Linked DNA regions of Homo sapiens: region 2 is linked to region 1. The links are contacts of gene promoters, found by promoter capture Hi-C in blood cells and fetal thymus (Javierre and others, 2016). All regions are on one chromosome and are shown on one strand. The core of a region is centred on a gene start or on the middle of the fragment in contact, and the rest is flanking DNA. Distances in the headings are between cores, read along the strand shown.

Region 1 (5,485 bases), core at 2,986-5,485:
CCTAAATCTTCTCTCTCAAGTTCAAAGTTCCACAAACCTCTAGGGCAGGGGCAAAATGCCACCAGTGTCTTTGCTAAAACATAACAAAAGTCACCTTTGCTCCAGTTCCAACAAGTTCCTCATCTCCATTTGAGACTACCTCAGCCTGGACTTTATTGTTATATCACTATTAGCATTTTTGTCAAAGCCATTCAACAAGCCTCTAGGAAGTTCCAAACTTTCCCACATTTTCCTGTCTTCTTCTGAGCTCTCCAAACTCTTCCAACCTCTGCCTGTTACCCAGTTCCAAAGTTGCTTCCATATTTTCAGGTAACTTTTCAGCAACATCTCACTCTACTGGTAACAATTTTTTTTTTTTTTTTTTTTTGAGACAGAGTTTTGCTCTTGTTGCCCAGGCTGGAGTGCAATGGTGCAATCTTGGCTCACCACAACCTCTACTTCCTGGGTTCAAGCGATTCTCCTGCCTCAGCCTCCCAAGTAGCTGGGATTACAGGCATGTACCACCATGCCTGGCTAATTTTGTAGTTTTAGCAGAGATGGGGTTTTGGTCAGGCTGGTCTCAAACTCCCGACCTCAGATGATCCGCCCACCTTGGCCTCCCAAAGTGCTGGGATTACAGGCATGGGCCATGGCGCCAGACCTCAATTTAATGTATTAGTCTGTTTTCATGCTGCTGATAAAGACAAACCTGAGACCGGGCAATCTACAAAAGAAAGAGGTTTAATTGGACTTACAGTTCCATGTGGCTGCGAAGCCTCACAATCATGGCAGAGGGCAAGGAAGAGCAAGTCATGTCTCACACGATGGCAGCAGGCAAAGAGAGGGAGCTTGTGCAGGGGAACTCCTCTTTTTAAAACCATCAGGTCTCGTGAGAGTTATTCACTATCATGAAAACAGCATGGGAAAGACTTGCCCTCATGATTCATTACCTCCTACCTGGTCCCTCCCACAACACGTGGGAATTCAAGATGAGATTTGGGTGGGGACACAGACAAACCATATCAGTAACATATCTGATGATCAATTCAAACTGGATGAAAGGGATATCGACTGCCTTCCTCACCTCTCCTTTTTAAAACTCTCATCCTAATGACCTGATACTAATCCTGAATGAGATACATGTTCTATTGCCATCCAGAACAAATTATATAAAAATTGCCCTATATTTGGAAAACATGGTTTATGCCTCAAAAGACAAGTGGCCCTAATTAGTAAAACAATAGTTTAATAATAATTATTTAAAAATCCAAATCATAATTGTGGCAATGTCTTCCAACATTTAATTGATTTCTGTTTAACAGATCTATAGAGCAGTCAACTGAATCATAGAGTTACATGTTGAAATTAGTTTATGTTGGCAGATTAATCAGGAGATTACCAGATTGCTTAAATCTGTATGTTCAATAGACTAAAGTTATTGTCCTTATGCTCTGTCCTTTCACACTTGAAGGTTTAATTAGCCATTTTGTCTTGGATAATAAATTGTGAACCTTAGCTTTATATAAGATAAAGCATTTTATGTCTCCCAATTCTTTTTTATTCAGCCTTGGCTAAAGTTAGAGCTGAAATTAGAGGCCACAGATTACAGTCAGCATTTTACTGAAGAACTTTCAAAGAAGGGAAGTACATTACAAAGCATGTGGCAAACCATTATCGTATATTATAATGATAAGGGTAAAAGCTGAAAAATATTTATGTGTCAGCATGAAGATACTAAGAATGCATGACAATTAGGTTGGAATGAAGGACCTATCAAGCCATATTTATTCTTATTCCATACCTTGTCATATGAAACTGGGTGGTTTGTAAGAAACTCTCTGGTCAGTTACCATGACATAACTAACATATTATTACATAAACTTCAACCTTGAAATTGTTTGCTTAATTGTCTAGGATGTAAAATTAAATTTACTCAGTGTACATTTAAGTAAATTGAATTTGCATTTCTTTACAAAGCAACCCACTTCACTGATCTTGTTAAAATTAACTCAACCAGTATTTTAAAAATCCTTAAGATTCTTTTGGAGTTAGTATAAAACAAATGTTTTCCTCTTTGCATGAATTGCAGTACAAGTAAAATAATGATTATAGCAGACACATAGAGTCTCGACTTTTTAACCACCACATAGAGTCTTGACTTTTTCCATGCTATCTGCCTCTAGGTTGATGGTCAAAGCATATGGATCTGCCATTACTGGCAACATAAAATATCCGCACTCCAGGGTCTTGTTGAAGCCTATGACCTCAAACATTTCACTGCCTAATTCATTTTAAATGCTGTATTTCAAGAATAACATGCTTAAAGGATTGTCAGGATATTTGTCCTCGTCTCAAACTGGGCATTCAGTTTCTACTTTATGAAGAAGGCTCATTAAATAAAATTTTTGGAAGTCTTTGCATTAGGAAAATATATGCCTCTTCTTGATCAATTGGTTACTCTTGATCTCAAAAACACTATAAAATCCTCTGGTTGGCCGATTTGTCACACTGTTCTGGTTTCGTATTTTCCTTCTCTTTAACGTCATACTAGTTTGCCCACTTATTTTTATCTTGTTTTATAGTAAGTGTTTTCTGTGTGCTGCCTGAAATTCCCTGGAGTAACGCAAGTGTAAACATGTAAGAATAAATATATTTCAGACTAGATAAAGGATCAGTGCTTATATGGCCAGAGGAAAAAAATCTCAAATGAATCTATGACAGTAAACAAGTGCTAAGATACCAATAGAACATTTGAAGAGATTTTGAGTCATCGAAGCCAAAAGTATGTGCCCACCAAAACAAGTGCCAAGAATCTTTGAAAGAAGGAACTGTTCTTCAACAATTTTTTCAATGCAGCAAACACATAGGCTTTGTCCATGGAGCATGTAAGTCTGGGCTTACTTATGTTCCCCAAATAAGTGCCCTTTGTGTGTGGAGCACAAGAAAATACATATATGCCCTGTCCTGTTAAGGTGCGAATTTAATTTCTACATTATACAATTATCAACAATAAGGAGTATTGTCAATTACTCCTTATTATACATTATACAATTATCAACAATAAGGAGTATTTTAATTCTCAAGAGCAGAATTAAAAATTGGATGTTCAAAGCCACAAGCCAACATCTCCAACTTGCTCTTTTATGATGTTTCAGTCACTAAATGCAGTGGCTGAGTGTTATCTGGCTTTTCTGTTCAAATTCTCTATGAGGCTCTAGAAATAACTTAGCCAGTATAATGTAACACTGGCAACTTAATTTCTACCTTCAGAGCAAGACTGGAACTGAAACTGCAAAACAGCTTGTGAAATATCAGCCAAATTACTTCCCCGAACTCCTGTTCCATATATGCTGTGCATTGTTAAGTATTTTAAGACCTCTTATATTCGATAACCCCCCTTACTATCCTGTAAAACGCTTTATAAACACTTTCCTGGGTGTCAGATGCAAAATCTTACCCTCTTCAAGCTGCAGATAAGGACACCGAGATGTTGCCAAATATGCTGTTTTGTCCCAGAGCACATACTGAGGAAGTGGTAGAACCAGAACCAGTCTGTGACCCCTTTGTTTTACTTTTGCGGAACTCCTGGTCTCATTAAAGGTGCAATACCAGCGATGAGACACTGCGTGTGCCCAACAGGGACAAAGGTCATTGAGCAGTCCTAGGAATTCAGACTTTCAGAAATGTCTCAGAAGAACTAAGTAGAAGGCAGGTTGTGCAGGTGTGCAGTGCAGCCTCAAACTGGTACCACCGGGATCGGTTTGCAAAACAGGAAGGTGCAGTAGGGTGTGCCGGGACTTAGTTAACCTGGCACTCCCCCACCTCCTTCCCCGGCGCCCCGCTGCCAGGTTACTTCTGGCCCGGTGCCCTTAACGTACCTTTTCCGTGTTTAACTTGGAGGGCTACGTTCCCATCGCCCTTCTTCCTCTACCCGTCACCCTACAGGCCTACCTGACAAATGTGGGGACGGTTTAGCCAAGGCCCGTTGGCCCACGAATGCCCAGGCGTGTGCCTTATTTCTGAGAGTGGGAGGGAGACAGCCCAGGCCCTGCAAGGACGCGCCCGGCTAGGGGGGCGCGGTGGCGCGGTCGGGAGGGTGTTGTGTTCTCAGCAGGCCTCAGGGCGGCACTCTGGTTCTGCGGCCGGAGTGCTCGGGCGGGCCGCTGGGCGCCGACCCATGCTGGCTGGGAACGTGTCTCCCGGTGACGCAGCCCCGGGTGGGGAACGTGGTGCGGCGGCGGCGGCGGCGGCGACTGTACGCGCCTCCGCCGCCCCCGAGAGGACGCGCCGTGCAGCGGCTGAGTGGCGGCGGCGGCGACGGCAAACCCGGAGCTGCCGGCCGGCGCGCGGGAGGAGGACGCGGGTGCGGTCTAGGAAGTAGGTCCCGGGCTCCGCGCTCAACAAAGACGGGGCCGCCCCCATTAGGTACGGAGCCGGCCCTGGGCCCCGGCTGGCGGGGAGGCCTCGTCGGGCAGTTCGCGGGCGGCCGGGGAGGGGGAAGGGCCGCAGACCGAACGGGGATACGGGGCGCCGGGGGCCCTTCCAGGCCCCTTTCTCTTCCACGGCCCCTGGCGGGACGGAAGGGAAGGGGCCGGGCCGCGAGGGCGCGGGCCGCTGGGGGTCGTAGCCTGCGACGCCAACCAGCCTTTGCTCGTCCCTCGTGCAGACGGAGCTGCGGGCGGAGGCTCCATGTTGGGAAGCGGCGCCGTTCGTGCTTGTTAGCGGGAATCCGGGAGCCGCGGGGTGAGCTGGCGGGGGCCGGGCCCTAAGTGAAGATGGAGGCCCCGCTGCGGCCTGCCGCGGACATCCTGAGGCGGAACCCGCAGCAGGACTACGAACTCGTCCAGAGGGTCGGCAGCGGCACCTACGGGGACGTCTATAAGGTAAGTGAGGCTGGCCGTGCTTTTTTCCTGCGGTCGACTGGGTCCCGGGAATGGGGCCACTTTCCTGCGAAGTATTGGGGCGAGAGGAGGATGCTTTTATTGTTGCCTCTTGGGGAGAAAGCGGCCGGGGTCCCTTTTACTCGGTTCTGAGCACCCTCGACTCATGGCTTGTTCTAATCGCTACCAACAGGCAGAACTAACCACACAGTTGCAAACCGCTGTTGCACTTTTTTTGTGGTTTAAAGGCTTTTTAATAGGGCTTATTTATGGTATTGAAGGGAATTTGAATCTGCTTGTGGAATTACACCGAAGGATGCTCTAGTGTTAGCATGGAAAAATGCTTCATGGAAGATAGACAGGAAAGAATATTGACATTCAGACATTTGCATTTTTTTAAAAAAATTTGTTTCAATGGATGAGTTTGACTAAAAAAGCCATATGAAACCCTGTCTCTGAGCTTTAACTGTAAGCAAACTAATATTGGTGACATTTATGCAAGCATTATCCCATATAAAAAGATGCTTTTCCTGGTGGAAGTTTGATCGTTTGTTTTTGGTTGGCGATAAAAATGTGATATTAACTTGCTGGGTTTTGTTTTACTTTAGCGGTTCCTTTCAGGGATT
Region 2 (5,586 bases), core at 1,073-3,572, 690 kb after region 1:
GATAGGAGGAAGGGGATTTAATAAAGAATGAGAGTTATTACATTGGATTGAAATAGGTTATCAAAAGCTTAGAGACGATACCAGGAAAATTCTCTTTGGGTTATATTAGTAAAGTTTGTAGGAATAAGCTGGGCACAGTGGCAGGGCACTTGTAATCCTAGCTACTTGGGAGGCTAAGGTGGGAGATTGCTTGAGTCCAGGAGTTTGAGCCTTGCCTGGGCAACAGAGAGACTCTGTCCCTTTCTTTTTTTTTTTTTTTTTTGAGACAGAGTCTTGCTCTGTTGCCCAGGCTGGATTGCAGTAGTGTCATCTCGGCTCACTGTAACCTCCGCCTCTTGGGTTCAAGCGATTCTTTTGCCTCAGCCTCCTGAGTAGCTGGGATTACAGGCATGCGCCAGCACGCCCAGCTAATTTTTGTATTTTTAGTAGAGATGGGGTTTCACCATATTGGCCAGGCTGGTCTTGAACTCCTGACCTCAAGTGATCCACCTACCTCGGCCTCCCAAAGTGTTGGGATTACAGGCCTGAGCCACCGCTCCTGGCAAAGACTCTCTTAAAGAAAAAAAAAAAAAAAAAAAAAAAAAAAAGAATTGGTAGGGGTAACTGGATATAAGGTGGTGGACTATTTACAGGATACCATAAGCCATAAGCTCATGGTCCATAGTTGATATGTATTAGAAGTAGAAGATTAGTGGAAACAATTAATTAATTTTGAACATAAATGAAGCATACAAAAGGGAAATTTGGCATACTTAGAAGTGTCATCAAAGAGACTTAAAAAAAATAAAGGGACTGGGTGTGGTGGCTCACGCCTGTAATCCTAACACTTTGGGAGGCCGAGGTGGGCAGATTGCCTGAGCTCAGGAGTTCGAGACCAGCCTGGGCAACGTGGAGAAACCCCGTCTCTACTAAAATACAAAAAATTAGCCAGGCGTGGTAGTGGGCGCCTGTAGTCCCAGCTACTCTTGGGAGGGTGAGGCAGGAGGATTGCTTGAACCTGGGAGGCAGAAGTTGCAGTGAGCCAAGATTGTGCTACTGTACTCCAGCCTGGGTGACAAAGTGAGACTCCGTCTCCAAATAAATAAATAAATAAATAAATAAGTAAAGGTTGGCTGGGCACAGTGGCTCATGCCTGTAATCCCAGCACTTTGGGAGGCTGAGGTGGGCGGATCACGAGGTCAGAACTTCGAGACCAGCCTGACCAACATGGTGAAACCCCGTCTCTACTAAAAATAGAAAAATTAGCCGGGTGTGGTGGCACACGCCTGTAATTTCAGCTACTCAGGAGGCTGAGGCAGGAGAATCACTTGAACCTGGGAGGCGGAGGTTGCAGTGAGCTGAGACTGTGCCACTGCATTCCAGTCTGGGCGACAGAGCGAGACTCTCTCTCAAAATAAAGTAAATAAATAAAGGTTGTGGCTTATGAGTGAGGTCATTAGGACCACAACAAGGAATTTAGCAGTGGTATAAAGCAACAAAGCAAATTTTGCTATAGGTCCATCATTCTCTACTTAAAAATTGAAAATAAAAGCCTGGCTCAGTAGCTTACGCTTGTAATCCCAGCACTTTGGGAGGCCAAGGCAGGAGGATTGCTTGTGCCCAGGAGTTTGAGATTAGCCTGGGCAACATAGTGAGACCCTGTCTCTACAAATAATGAAAAAATTAGCTGGGGATAGTGGCATGTGCCTGTGGTCCCAATCCTCAGGAGGCTGATGCAGGAGGATCACCTGAGCCAGGGAAGTCGAGGCTGCAGCGAGCCATGATCACACCACTGGGCTCCAGTTTGGGTGACAGAGTGAGACCCTGTCTTAAAAAAATGCAAATAAAACACTGTTTCAGAGTTAGTGTTTATAATAAAATGTTTTCCCTCTGATTATCATCTGCAATCTATTACTTTATGACTATACTGTTATTCACAACGTTTTAAATATTCCTGATGATAATGAAAAGAAGCTTATTTATAAACCAATACCAAATGGTTAGGAATTCACTTTTACTAAATGAATGCCTTTTTCTTTCTCTTGCTAGTGCCGAAAACATTTGAAGAGTCGGAGATTAGTCAGTGCAAAACAGCTTGGTGTGGATAGAATTGTAGATTTTCAATTTGGAAGTGATGAAGCTGCTTACCATTTAATCATTGAGCTCTATGATAGGGTAAGTTAAATTTGTGGGATATGGTGAAGGAAAATTTCTTATTAATCATTTTGTAATAGTGCTATATAACATGAGTGGGGGAACATTTTTTTTCTGTGTCAAAGGTTGTTACTACCCTAGGAAATGGGTGCCACACAAATAAAATAAAATTTTCCAGTAATAACCTTCATTTTATCTGTAGGTCTGAGTTTAGGCAGACTTTAGCCATTTAGAATAGCCTTATGAATGTAGGAGATGAAGATCTGAGAAGTAAATTATTTGGTACTTGACATTTCAGGACTAATATGCAACCAGAAAATAGTCAAATACGGTCATGCACTGATGCGCTGTATGTATAGTGATGTTTCAGTCAACAACAGACTGCATATAAACGTTGGTCCTGTAACATTGTAATGGATCTAATAAATTCTTACTGCTTAGTGACATCTTGATCCTGACTCTGTGTAGGCCTAGGCTGGTGTGTGAGTTTGTGTGTTAGTTTTTAACAAAAACATTAAAAGTAAAAACAAAACAATTTAAAATGGAAAAAAAGCTTAGAGAATATGGATCTAAAGAAAGAAAGTATTGTACAGCTGTACGATATGTGTTTTAAGCTAAGTGTTATTACAAGAGTCAAAAAGCTAAAAAGTTTAAAGTTTATAAAGTAAAAAAGTTCCAGGAAGCAAAGGTTAATTTATTATTGAAGAAAGAAAAACATCTTAAAAATAAATTTGGCTGAGCGCAATGACTCAGGCCGGGCACAGTGGCTCACACCTGTAATCCTAGCATTTTGGGAGGCCGAGGAGGGCGGATCACCTGGGGTCAGATCACCTGGGGTCAGGAGTTCAAGACCAGCCTGGCCAACATGGCAAAACCCCGTCTCTATTAAAAAATACAAAAATTAGCTGGGCGTGGTGGCGGGCACCTATAATCCCAGCTACTCGGGAGGCTGAGGCAGGAGAATCACTTGAACCTGGGAGGCAGAGGTTCCAGTGAGCTCAGATTGTGTCACTGTGCTCCAGCCTGGGCAACGGAGCAAGACTTTGTCTCAAAAATAAACTAACTAACTAACTAACTAACTAACTTAATCTGGGCCAGGTGTGGTGGCTCACACCTGTAATCCCAGCACTTTGGGAGGCCAAGGCGAGTGGATCACCTGAGGTCAGGAGTTTGAGACCAGCCTGCCCAATGTGGCAAAACTGCATCTCTACTAAAAATACAAAAATTAGCCTGGTGTGGTGGTGCGTGCCTGTAGTCCCAGCTACTCGGGAGGCTGAGGCAGGAGAATCACTTGAACCTGGGAGGCAGTGGTTGCAGTGAGCTGAGATCATGCCATTGTACTCCAGCTCAGGTGACAGAGTGAGATTCAGTCTCAAAAAGGAAAAAAAAAATATATGTGTGTGTGTGTGTGTGTGTGTGTGTGCGCGCGCGTGCGCGTGCGTGTGTATGTATATAAATAAATAAATACATAAATTTAATCTGGTCTGAGGTAAGCATAATTTTTTTAAAAATTAAAAAATAAAAAACAAATTTAGTGTAGCCCAAGTGTGCAGTATTTATCAAGTCTACAGTAGTATGCAGTAATGTCCCAGGCCTTCACATTTACTCACTGTCACTCACCCAGAGCAGTTTTCAGTCCTGCATGCTCCATTCATGGTAAGTGCCCTATACAGGTGTTCCATTTTTAATCTTTTATACCAGGGATCTTCAACCCCTGTGCCGCAGACTGGAACTGGTCTGTGGAACCAGGCCACACGGCAGGAGGTGAGCAGTATGCGAGTGAGCATTACTCACCTGAGCTCTGCCTCCTGTCAGATCAGTGGTGGCATTAGATTCTTATAGGAGCGTGAACCCTATTGTGAACTGTGCATGCAAGGGATCTAGGTTGCATGCTTCTTGCGAGAATCTAATGCCTGATGATCTGAGGTGGAACAGTTTCATCCGGAAACCATACCCCTGCACCCCCCATCCATGGAAAAATTGTCTTCCATGAAACTGGTCCCTGGTGCCAAAGGCTGGGGACTGCGGTTTTTTTTTTGTTTTGTTTTGGTTTTTTTTTTTTGATACAGAGTCTCACTTTGTTGCCCAGGCTGCAGTGCAAGGGTGTGATCTCAGCTCACTGCAACCTCTGCCTCCCGGGTTCAAGCAATCCTAGTGCCTCAGCCTCCTGAGTAGCTGGTATTACTGGCATGTACTACCATGCCCAGCTAATTTTTGTATTTTTAGTAGAGATGGGGTTTCACCATATTGGCCAGACTGTTCTCAAACTCCTGACCTCAGGTGATCTGCTCGCCTTGGCCTCCCAAAATGCTGGGATCACAGGCATGAGCCACTGCGCCCGGCCTGGAACTGTTGTTGTAATACCATATTTTTACTGTACTTTTTCTATATTTAGATGTACTTAGATACACAAATACTTGCTATTGTATTACAGTTGACTACAGTATTCAGTAACATGCTATACAGATTCCTAGCCTAGGAGCAATAGGTTATATCATATCTTTGGTGGATGTATTAGGCTACACCGTCTAGGTTTGTGTAAGTATACTCTATTACGTTCACACGACATCGAAGTTGCCTAAATGCATTTCTTAGAATGTATCCCCATTGTTAAGCAATGCATGACATTGGGTCTGCCTTCTTTTATGCAATATTTTTTATTTTTTTGAGATAGAGTCTTGCTCTGTTGGCCAGGCTGGAATTCAGTGGCATGATCAGGGCTTACTGCAAACTCGGCCTCCTGGGCTCAAGTGACCCTCTTGCCTTAGCCTTTCATGTAGCTGGTACCACAGATGTGCACCACCATGCCTGGCCAATTTTTTTATTTTTTGTAGAGACAGACTCTCACTTCGTTGCCCAGGCTGACCTTGGACCCCTGGCTCAAGCAATCTTCCCATCTCAACCTCCTAAGGTGTTGGGATTACGGGGGTGAGCCACCACGCCTGGCTCTTTTATTCAATATATAATGTCTGTGAGATTCATTGATGTTGAAAATTCCCTTAGCTCCACATCCTTAGCAACATTTGATATGATCTCTTAGAGCTCTTTATCTAATCTGATTATGAGCCCTTTGCTGATTATTTGTGTAGTAAATGTCCTTTTCTACTCTAACCTGAGTTTTTACTCTTTCTTTTTTTTTATTTTTTAATTTTTTTTGAGAATAAGTCTCACCCTGTCGCCAGGCTGGAGTGCAGTGGTGTGATCTTGGCTCACTGCAACCTCCGCCTCCCGGGTTCAAGCGATTCTCCTGCCTTAGCCTCCCGAGTAGCTGGGATTACAGGCACCTGCCACCACGCCCAGCTAGTTTTTGTACTCTTAGTAAAACAGGGATTCACCATGTTGGCCAGTCTGGTCTTGAACTCCTGACCTCAGATAATCTGCCCACCTTGGCCTCCCAAAGTGCTGGGATTACAGGCGTGAGCCACTGCGCCTGGCCTGCTACTAGTTTTTCAG

Evidence for each region. Contacts are between HindIII fragments. The CHiCAGO score rates a contact against its expected background, and 5 or more counts as called.
Region 2: a contact is called between a fragment that was not itself captured here and the fragment with the promoter of MAP4K5 in region 1, in 2 of 17 cell types (naive CD8 T cells and total CD4 T cells). The highest score is 5.2, in naive CD8 T cells.

The regions. Positions count from the first base shown.
Region 1 is chr14:50,531,319-50,536,803 of GRCh38, reverse strand. It overlaps MAP4K5 (mitogen-activated protein kinase kinase kinase kinase 5), which reads left to right and starts at 4,235. Exons shown (of 33, transcript NM_006575.6): 1 at 4,235-4,356; 2 at 4,646-4,862. The coding sequence starts at 4,755. It also overlaps a transcript of ATL1 not described here. RefSeq lists a silencer at 3,912-4,541. The HindIII fragment of the contact is 11,447 bases long and covers 1-5,485 here.
Region 2 is chr14:49,842,708-49,848,293 of GRCh38, reverse strand. It overlaps NEMF (nuclear export mediator factor), which reads left to right. Exons shown (of 33, transcript NM_004713.6): 4 at 2,029-2,154. Among named protein-coding and RNA genes, the nearest start is that of NEMF, 7.3 kb to the left of the region's middle. The HindIII fragment of the contact is 733 bases long and covers 1,956-2,688 here.